2 separate regions of the Homo sapiens genome follow, and region 1 is linked to region 2. The links are contacts of gene promoters, found by promoter capture Hi-C in human tissues and cell types (Jung and others, 2019). All regions are on one chromosome and are shown on one strand. Each heading gives the region's core, a stretch centred on a gene start or on the middle of the fragment in contact. The rest is flanking DNA. Distances are from core to core; before and after follow the strand shown. Region 1 overlaps TMEM161B-DT (TMEM161B divergent transcript). Region 2 holds the start of TMEM161B (transmembrane protein 161B).

Region 1 (5,225 bases), core at 1,624-4,123, 150 kb before region 2:
TTATTAAGGCCAATTTAATTCTCATTGTCCTGGAGCCATTTAACATTCAACATAATTATCTGCTTGTACCATTAATAAGGAAGAGAAAAATATACACAACGTAAAGTTATCTACCTTGACAAAACCAGGTTTTAAACAATTCCACACTCTTCACTCTTTCCATGTTTATTATGTCTCTAAGGGGTCAATGTTATAACAGATTTTAAGTTTTTGGTCATTTCCTCAAGCAAATATTCTGAAACAAAGGATCCAATAACATTTTCCATTTATAATATCTCACTACAAATTTTTAATTTTTTTACAAATGAATTATTCAAGTTGCAATTGATAGAGGCTTCCTTTGAACATTATTTAAAGCTCTTTTTAAGTACCTAAAGGATAATAGAGAATAAGAAAATTCTTCTGTGATTGGTTAAAGAGCAGAGGTATGTGTGCTATTGACAATATGGAAAAATCTGCCAAGTGATTTTAATTAAGCCTAATAATGTGAACCCATACTTGATGAGTAGGAGAACTAAGCAGGAAGCCAGTTATAGAGGATGACATGAAAGATGGGAGATCATTGGGTCTGAAATTCTGGAAGCAAAGATAAATGACTTTTTTTTTTTAACCAAAAGGAATGAATACCTTTATGGCTAACTTAGTTGGCTTTTCTTCCATCAACTAGGGTATATTCTTTCCTCTCCTTAAGACTGTTTCCTTTTCTGTAAAATGTGACCATTGTAATACCCTTCATAAATGACCAGGATAGGCAGACCTGAAATAACAGTCCTTCCTGATCTCAGTCAGATAGGGTAAAAGCTGAGATAGAGAATGCTACTGGGAATTACATTGCAAAAGAAACATCTGGTTGGACGCAGATGTAATCCTAACACTTCGGGAGGCCAAGGCGGATGGATGGCTTGAGCCTAGGAGTTTGAGACCAGCCTGGGCAATGTGGTGAAACCCCATCTCTACAAAAATTAGCCAGGTGTGTTGTGTATGTCTGTAGTCCCAGCCACTTGGGAGGCTGAAGTGGGAGGATCACCTGAGCCCTGGAAGGTTGAGGCTGCAGTGAGCTGAGATGGAGACACTGCACTCCAACCTGGGTGGTAGAGTGAGATCCTGTCCCAAAATAATAATAATGATGATGATGATGATAATAATAATAATAATAATAATAATAATAATAATAAATGAAAAGAAAAAGAAACATCCAAATGGGAGGCTGAGTATCAGGGTGTATTCCAATTATGACACAACTATGTGTGACTTTGTGTTGATAAATAAGTAAATAGCTCTTTGTGTCAGATTCCTCCCTGATGAAACAAGGGAGATTTGCAATACACATAAAGCAGTTGACCCTGGGCAAAGTCCTAAAAATAATTTGTGGGTTACATAAATCAAATTAACTCACACTGACATGGATTCTTAAAGAAGCATTGTGGAATCCACACACAAACAGTGTTGCCTCTAGTCTACCCCACCATCCTCTTTTCAGAGATTACAGGAGAGACATTTCTAAAGGTTGGACACTTAAAACAAACTCTCAAATCACCTGGGCTGGGCTACATGACATGATGCTACTAGATGAATGGCAGTCTCATGAGTGAATCAAGGAACTGTAAAGATGAATTTCAGGCCTTTGTGAAAATGGCTTACAAGTGATCCCCAATTTCAAATGATTGTCATTTCTGTTTCTGCTCAGACATTCTGCATCCGAAACAGATCTGCTCATGAATCCTTGCAAGAAAATCTAACAGAGTACAGCAGAGTGTTCCCTTTCCTGGTGAGCTAATGCCCAAGAATATCCATTCTAGAGTCCATGGTGTGCATGGAATGATATTTCTTGGAATTTCCCAGGGACTGAAACTTCTCCAATGACTATTCAGCTGGGCTCTCAGAATTAGGAATAAACATGTCAGAGCCAGAGGGTGGGGTCTGAAAATGGAAATCCTCAAGATGAGACAATATTAGTTAGTTGGAAAGGGTGATAACTTTTCTCTGTCCCTAGTTCACAACCTGGGAGTGATTTAGACATTAGGATACGCAGTGTAATTTCCCATTTCAACCCTTGGTTTTATACTTCACTAATTGCTGTTAGTTATTTCTTTAGATAACCCAATAACACAGAGGTCTATTGGTCTCATTATTTGAATAAAGAAAACTGAGGCAGAGAAAGGATAAAAAATTAGTTCCCATCTGGCTGGGATTTTAAAATGTGTTAAATGTCTTACTCTATTTTACCTCTTTCCATATACATTGATTTTAACATCCAATCAATGCATGAACCAGCTTGACTTTGCTGCCCACCTTTTCATTCCCTCCACTCCAACAAGAGACAGGCTTCAATAAATAGATAATAAGTAGACAAGGTGATAAGAGAAAAGTTTTCAATCTAATTTAATTTAATTTAATTTTTGAGGCAGGATCTCGCTTCATTGCCCAGGCTGGAGTGCAGCGGAACAATTATGGCTCATGGCAGCCTCAATCTCTTGGGCTTAAGTGATCCTCCTGCCTCAGCTTCTGGAGTATCTGGGACTACAGGCGTCTGCCACCATGCTCAGCTAAATTTTTTTAATGTTTTGGCCAGACGCGGTGGCTCATGCCTGTAATCCCAGCACTTTGGGAGGCCAAGGTGGGCAGATCACTTGAGGTCAGGAGTTTGAGACCAACTTGACCAACATGGTGAGACCCTGTCTCTAATAAAAATACAAAAATTAGCTGGGTGTGGTGGTGCATGCCTGTAATCCCAGCTACTCAGGAGGCTGAGCCAGGAGAATAGCTTGAACCCAGGAGGCGGAGGTGGCAGTGAGCCAAGATTGTACCACTGCCCTCCAGCCTGGGTGACACAGCAAGGTTCCATCTCAAAAAAAAAAAAAAAAAAGTAAAATGTTTTATGGAGACAGGGTCTCATTATGATGCCCAGGCTGGTCTTGAACTTCTGGCCTCAAGCGATCCTCCCACCTCAGCCTTCCAAAGTGCTGGGATTACAGGTGTGAACCACCACACCCAGCCAAATATGCAAGTTTTTAATTTTTTAAGTCAATTAAAGATTGACTTTAAAAAGTCCATTTTAATTCAGAAGTGACCATTCTGTCATTCTGAAATTTTGTTCTTTGTCCTTCGGAATGTTTGTTTACTTGGCTGGAGCATCAGTGTGGTTGGAGTCCCTGCACAGTAGGAGGAAGTTGCTCCTGCATCCTTCTCAAACCTCACAGAAACACAAGGATTTCACAAAAATCTGTCGATTTCTTTCCTCAACTGCATTTAATTATGATATTTTTAAGACACAGAATTTCCTCTTAATTTAAAGCTTTCTTTTTCTAGGAGCATTTCAGTTTTTCATTTCTGTAAAAGCCTGTACTTTTTTTAAAAAAAAGATTCAAAGTTTGTCTTGCTATGTTTTCAAGAATTCGAGACTTGTAAACTTAAAACAAAACCCACTTTTACCTTTGCAAACCAGCCTCAAAAGAGAAAATAACCCTACTTTAGCTTTGAATTTAAAGTTAAATTTTATATTGAAGGAATTCTTTTCCATTCGCCTTCTCACTAAGTCATGTCTCACAATTCTGGCTTCATTTTTCTAACAGTTCCTCTTCAATAACCTTGCCAAGTCAATCTTGTCATAATGTGGGGATGAAGAAATCAAGTTTTATTGTTTTTCAACTTCAAACTTAATGTATATTGTTCACAAAGTGATGGAAAAAAGGCCATTTTGAAAAAATGATTCAAGCTGTCAAATAAAGTGGTAACATCCATTTGGTAGGTGGCCTACGGATAGCAGTCCTGATTTTATGATTTTCTGACCTCTCTGGGATTTGGGTTTCACATCTGTCCAGTGAGGGAGTTGGTTGCCAGCTCCCCAAGATATAGTCATTACCACAGCAGCCTCGTGCTTTTTACCATGTCACTGACTACAGCCATTATGTAATATTTCCACTGCTATATTCACTGCACTAATTTTCACTTAATGTTTGTCTTTAAACTAACTCTATTTTTATTTTTAACTTTAAGCATATTTTAAAAGGAAGCTTTGTGCATCTGCCATTTAAAAAAGTGTCATCCATATAGTTGGTAACCCAAAAAATTATATTTTTAATGAAAACCATACAGTATTATTAAATTCTGGCTCTACATAGTTATCTGCTAAAGACGCTGAGCCTGAGGCTTGTCTTCTGTTTCTCAAAAAGGAAGATAAAAGTGTTAGAGACTTCTTTGTTAGCACCAGACTGAGACTTTCTTCTTGATATAATTAGAAGTCTCAAAAAACCTGAAAGAGGCTAATTTTCTTATTGCGTTATTCACTATCCATACGCTTCCTAAAACTATCCTGTACACATTAGAGATCCATATTCCTCATCCCAGAAAAAAACTGGGCTGAATGTTGTTCTTAACAGTTTATTATATTGCAGATCTGTAATTTCAGTTTACAGACACACAAAAGACACAGAGGAGAGGTACATTCCTCTTCTGGTGCTTCAAAAAGCTGAAACACAAGCATCTTGTAAAAAGAGCTGACTCCTCTCTATACTCCATGACTCTGGGTAACTTGTTCGGACACGAAAAGGTAATAAGGAAGTGTGAATAAGAGCAGGAATGAGAATCCAACTGGTCAACTTGATTTGGTTGTTGTAAAATACCTTTATCTAACAATCAGATTGAAAAATGTCATTAAATAAATCAAAACTGTTTTTGTCAGAGCTGAAAGGCAAATGCTGGGATCAACTTGACAAAGTCGTTGTATTTTAATAGAGAATTGGTGCAGTTTTGGTATACTGCAAAATTACTCGACCATCTTTAACTTGTTATAACTACCAGTAGCCACTCATATAGTAAAAGTAAGTGTTTTAAAAGCAGAAATGAATAACTATGTCTGCTATACTTGTTCATAGTTTTGTTTGTATGTGGTTTTTTGTCGTAAGCTTGTATAGTTACACACAAAGTAAAACTTCAGTTCAAAAACTTTACTTTCCCCTTTGTTTCCCCTTTGCTGCTAGAGTTACACAAATGACCAAAGTTTATAATCTTTTCATTATCCAACATGAAGTAAAAATAATAATTAAAGCAGACTCATATTGAAAATAACAATAGAAAATTAGTGGGATAATTCACTGCTTTTTTTTTTTTGGTTTTTAGTTCTACTGCCAACATAAAACAGCATAATGGCAACTGAAATATCAATATTCTTAATACTCCATTTTACTTGGCAGTAACTGCAAGGAAACCTATCCATCTTGAGTCTT
Region 2 (4,950 bases), core at 1,778-4,277:
CAAATAACGTCTTTGTCATAAAGCATTTTAAGGGCAATTTAAATGAAGTAACTGTTTACAACATTCACTTAAATGATATTTGTTATGGGGAAGGCGAGAAAACAAAACAAGGTCCCAGCTGTGGAGGAATTTATAGTCTAATTAGGAAAACAGTATATGTTAGGGGAAAAAAAACTACAATGAAAGCATACGACACTTAACCTTGTTCAGAAACAGTAATTTCTTAGCAGAAAAACTAAGCAGAACATTTTGCAAAAAATATGGACTGAACTGCGAAAAAGTGATATATCTTAATGGTTTAAAGAGTTCCAGGTCAGTGTGGGTATCGTACTTTTTGTTGGTCTTGAAAGCATTTGAGAACAGTTCTCATTCAGGACATTTCAACTCATCACAAAGCCCGAATGGTAAGCAACCAAGACTTTTCTCAAAGATTATGCTCCTAATTCCCTTGCTGAAACTACTGAATTTCTTTTCATCTCCATCTATCTTTTCTTCCCTTTCATAACTGTCCCCTTTCTTTGTATCTTTGTCAAAGACACTCACCTATTTTAAATAATGGAAACAGAGAAATTACTGTACTTCAAGGCAGGCAACCAATAGATAATAATATTATTCTACCAAAAAAAAAAGACTGGGTGGCACTACCTTAAAACATATATCCATTTTAATCATTAAATAGCATTACTTATATAACAGATTTTTCACATGTAATTGAGAGAACTGTGTGAAACAGAACATTAAAAGATATTAATCAAGAGTTATTCATCAACTTGCCATACAACAAATAAGGAACACTGCACTCTGTGATCTATTAAAAATGATAAGCAGATAATCAAAACTGCGATTTCTTTTCATGGTTTTACTCTAGCAGGAATGGATTCCATTCTGATAGTAATTCCAGTTTTACTGTCACATAGAAGGAGATACTTTGCGAACCTCAATGACTGCCAGGTTTAGGACAGATATTAAGAACCACAGTGTCAGAAATGAAAGAGTACAACTTCACAGAATGTGTTGTCTCTGACAGGTTGATAGCCACTTACCTTCTCCATCTTTTCTTCCTCAAGGATAGCAGCTGCTTCCCACAGATACACCAACAGGCAATTCCAGCCCCTCTCTACCACACTTACCATTTGCAGGTGCCTGTGGCTTGTCTATTTACAACCTTGTCCCTACACAGCAGAAGCGGAACCCTTCAGGAAGTTCTGGATTCATCCTCAGCAGGATCTGTTTCACAAACTATTCTCCAGTCCCACCTTCCCTCCAGGTATTCTGTCAGTACTTACGATTCCCAGATCTTCTTTTAATTGTCACGCTGTTCGTCCCCTCACAAAATCAAGTTTAAACTAAAAAAAAAAAACAAAAAAAAAAACCCTCATACACTCAGTCTGTGTCCCCTTTCCTGACATAAAATAACTGGCCCTGTGCATGCTTCTTTTGGATGGCTGAGAACCCCGATTCCTTTGGGCCATTTACAGCTTGGATACCATACGCTCCAGGTACTTTGATAAGCAGGGTGAAATTTAATATCTATAACAACGCCTGCCTACTCAACCTTCTTAACTTCTCCCAAAACTTCCTAGTTTCCCTTCCCAATTCCAACTTCATAACAAAACATCACACTATGGCACAAAGTGAATTCATGGATGAAATTACTAACAGCTACAACTTAAGTAAGGACCCCAAGTCGTGAGACAAATTTCTGGGTTGAAAGTGCTCTGTATATCCATTTCAAGCCTGCCTCCAGTACGATGTCTCATTATAATCAAATAAAAAGGCAGAAAAAGTTGAATGGAATAGAGTTTGGAAAAAACACAAAATTAAAAGTTGTATGAGAGTTTCACTTATTTGCATCTGATATAAATATCTATACATCTATAGAAAAAAAAAACCCTCATACACTCAGTCTGTGTCCCTTTTCCTGACATAAAGCAACTGGCCCTGTGCAAGCTTCTTTGGGATGGCTGAGAACCCCGATATATCGATATATTTATAGATAGACGTCTACATATCTATCCAAATATCTATATCTATCCATATATCTACCTATCTATCTATCTATATATATATCTATATCTATCGATCGATATCTATCTATATCTATCTATCTAGACTTCCCTGGTGAGGGAGTGAACCGCTGCCTGACGGGGGCCAAGACTGGCAGAGCAGAGACGCGGTTTGTACATGAGGGGAGGTGGTGGCCAGAGCAAAAGTGAACCGCAGGCTAGGCAAAGACCACAGCACACAGCCATACAGGTGTCCAGGACCGTCAGATCCCAGAGCATCTATCTATATAGATAGGTATCTATATGGAAAACGTCCATATTGGAACGTATTAAAGAGGCAGAATTTTCTTCCTGGGTTCTCTGCTCTTGGTAGATGTTCTTCCGGCTTCAATTGCCACCTGTGAATAGTGAAGAAACTTCTCACTATGAGATTCCATTGCCCGGAAGGAGGGTAGAGCTACGGTACCCACTAAGGCAGGGAACAGAAGCAACAGACGGACAGGTCTGTGGAAATGAGGATATGCTAATAAGGGACCGAGTCAGGAAAACTAGAGGGTAACAAGAGGGCGTCAGTTAAGCTGAGACAAAATGACGGCCAAAGGTGGTCTTTACTCTCTCTAAATCACCTGGGTCTGGAGTCGACTCCCATCGCGCACCCTCACTCCCACCCCTGGCCCCCTCCCGCCCCCCACCCGCCCCCCTCCCTCTCCCCTCCCGCTCCCCACACCAACGTGTGCCTCCGTCACCTCTCAGACAGTGGATGCGTTCCTGTTGAAACCACCCAATCTACCTCAGGGTCCTCGCAAGCGCAGCCACCACGATCCGCCCGCCCACGTACCTGTGCTGCGCCTGCGCCTCCTCCGCTCTCTCAAGGTCAGCACCGCCCCCAGCCCACAACCTGGCACCCACGGAAGTTGCTTTAGAGGACGTCCTGCGTATCTTCACCTCTGCGTGGCGTGGGGTCGACGGCGCTCTGGAGAAGGGAGGAACTTCCTGTCCCGCGCGCGCACAACTTCCGGCAGAGCCGGAAGACCCTCTCTTTCGCTGTTTGAGAGTCTCTCGGCTCAAGGACCGGGAGGTAAGAGGTTTGGGACTGCCCCGGCAACTCCAGGGTGTCTGGTCCACGACCTATCCTAGGCGCCATGGTGAGTTCTTCTGTGAGGGCAGGAGTGACAACGGTGGGGCGAAAAGGGCGGGGAGGTCAGTACTGTGAAAAGAGCCATCAGGTGCTCTGCTCAGAATGGAGTTGAGACGTTGGGATGAGCTGCTGGGTAGGACCCACCACCTATCTCAGGGTGTCTGAGCCCCTGAGGAAGCAGCATTACGCCTACCTGTCTGGGAGACTAGCGGGCCGGAGGCAGGGGCGTATCTGTCAGGGAGTATGGACTGGGTAGCCTGCCTGTTCATGGCCCATTTACTGTGTATGGCCTGTGGCGCCAGGTGATCCCAGAGTTGACCTTGCCGGGTCAGTCACCTCTTCTGCGCCCCCTTCTCCATCCGCGGAACAGTGGCCAAGAACTTCAGATCTTAGAAATGCTTTTAGCCTCTCCAGGTGGACACAACGGGTCTCCTTGTATAAGATCAACACCTGTCATTTAAAGAAACGGTAGTCCCCTTATTCTTTACACTTAGCCATTTCATAATTGAAAAGGGTGTCAAATAAAAAACCCGAGTTTAGTAAGGACAGACTTTATTCGAAAGGAATATTGCAGGGGTGTGGAGGAAGGTTGAAGGAACTGTTGCAGTAGGGAGAATGACCGTAAGATTTGCATGCACCTTAAAGGTTAGGCAGAAAGGGTTTGTCTTTTGTTGGTAGGGGTAAATAAGATGTCAGGAATTGGGATGAAAATATGGGTATGATCCGGCAGTAACCAGATAATGTTTTACCCTGAGCCCATGTATTCTGAGGAGGAGCTGTTAGGAGAGGTTTGTATATGTTGTTTCAGACTGAGGGAAGGACAAAATTCAGGTACCCGAGAGAAGAGAATCTTAAAGTTTGGTTAATAAGTATTTTGTTCCGATTGATCTGTGGGACAGGTACTTCAGCAAGTCATTTACGAAGCAAAGGATGGGAATTAGAAGGGTCTAGTTATGGCCTTGTTATAGGTAAACAAGGGGTAGGGGGGTATGGATCAACCCTTAGTCTTATCTAAGTTCTACAGGAAAGATGATTCTTTGCAGTAAGCCAATTTCTCAGAACACAAACGGGGGCAAGGGGTTTCTTAACCTTTGCTGTTTTTCAAGATCACGGGGCTCTGGTGAAGTTCATTATTGTCAGTTTCTTCACCGTATACAAGATTTCAAACCCTCACTTGCAGAGGCTTCTGTCCTGGAATTTAGCTTCAGTTTGTCTTATATTTTCAGGGCCAAATATTGCCAACATTCAGTTAATGTGTGTGGTGATTGGCTTTTGAATGACTTTTAGAAACTTAGCTGAATGTAGAACAAAGACCTTCAAAATAATGTAGTTCCTGGTGCACTTTACCAGATAACCTATCTCTTTAAAGTTTTTTTTTTTAAGCCTCAGTGAATAATATGGTTTGTATTAAGAAAGTTGTTTTTCTTTTGTATCAGTGAAATTAGACAAGGATAGGGAAAACAGAACTGGGAGAAACCAAAGCCTAGTAATCACTCTTCCATCCCCATTTTTACAGAAGAAAGAATCTGGGGTCTAGAAATTGACAGTGATTTTTCTAAAGTAACAGTAGTTTGGCAGTCTGGACTAAAACTCATATTTTCATTTTTTAAATTTAAGATTAATTTTTGACTTTTTGGTCTGAAAAGTTGAAGGTAAAGTATAATTAAAATACTTAAGTTCATCATAGTCACAGAAAAGCTGAACATGAACTTGTTCTCAGTGTTTTGGAATACTAGAAGTAGAATCCTGCTTATCCTGTCGGTTCAAAAGAGATGGTTAATGTTTGGAACTAATGTAATCTTATGC

The links. Contacts are between HindIII fragments. The study calls those that stand out against the background at their distance.
Region 1: a fragment that was not itself captured here is called in contact with the fragment with the promoter of TMEM161B in region 2 in 2 of the 25 tissues and cell types used here (dorsolateral prefrontal cortex and hippocampus).

What each region holds. Positions count from the first base shown.
Region 1 is chr5:88,419,438-88,424,662 of GRCh38, reverse strand. All of the region lies in intron 2 of TMEM161B-DT (TMEM161B divergent transcript), which reads right to left. The region is part of intron 5 of LINC02060 (long intergenic non-protein coding RNA 2060); the gene reads left to right. Among named protein-coding and RNA genes, the nearest start is that of LINC02060, 17 kb to the left of the region's middle. The HindIII fragment of the contact is 5,693 bases long and covers 27-5,225 here.
Region 2 is chr5:88,266,922-88,271,871 of GRCh38, reverse strand. It overlaps TMEM161B (transmembrane protein 161B), which reads left to right and starts at 3,027. Exons shown (of 12, transcript NM_153354.5): 1 at 3,027-3,151. The coding sequence starts at 3,149. TMEM161B-DT (TMEM161B divergent transcript) reads right to left here and starts at 2,990. Exons shown (of 3, transcript NR_039995.1): 1 at 2,845-2,990; 2 at 1,287-1,346. RefSeq lists enhancers at 2,861-3,050, 2,741-3,240. The HindIII fragment of the contact is 7,701 bases long and covers 1-4,950 here.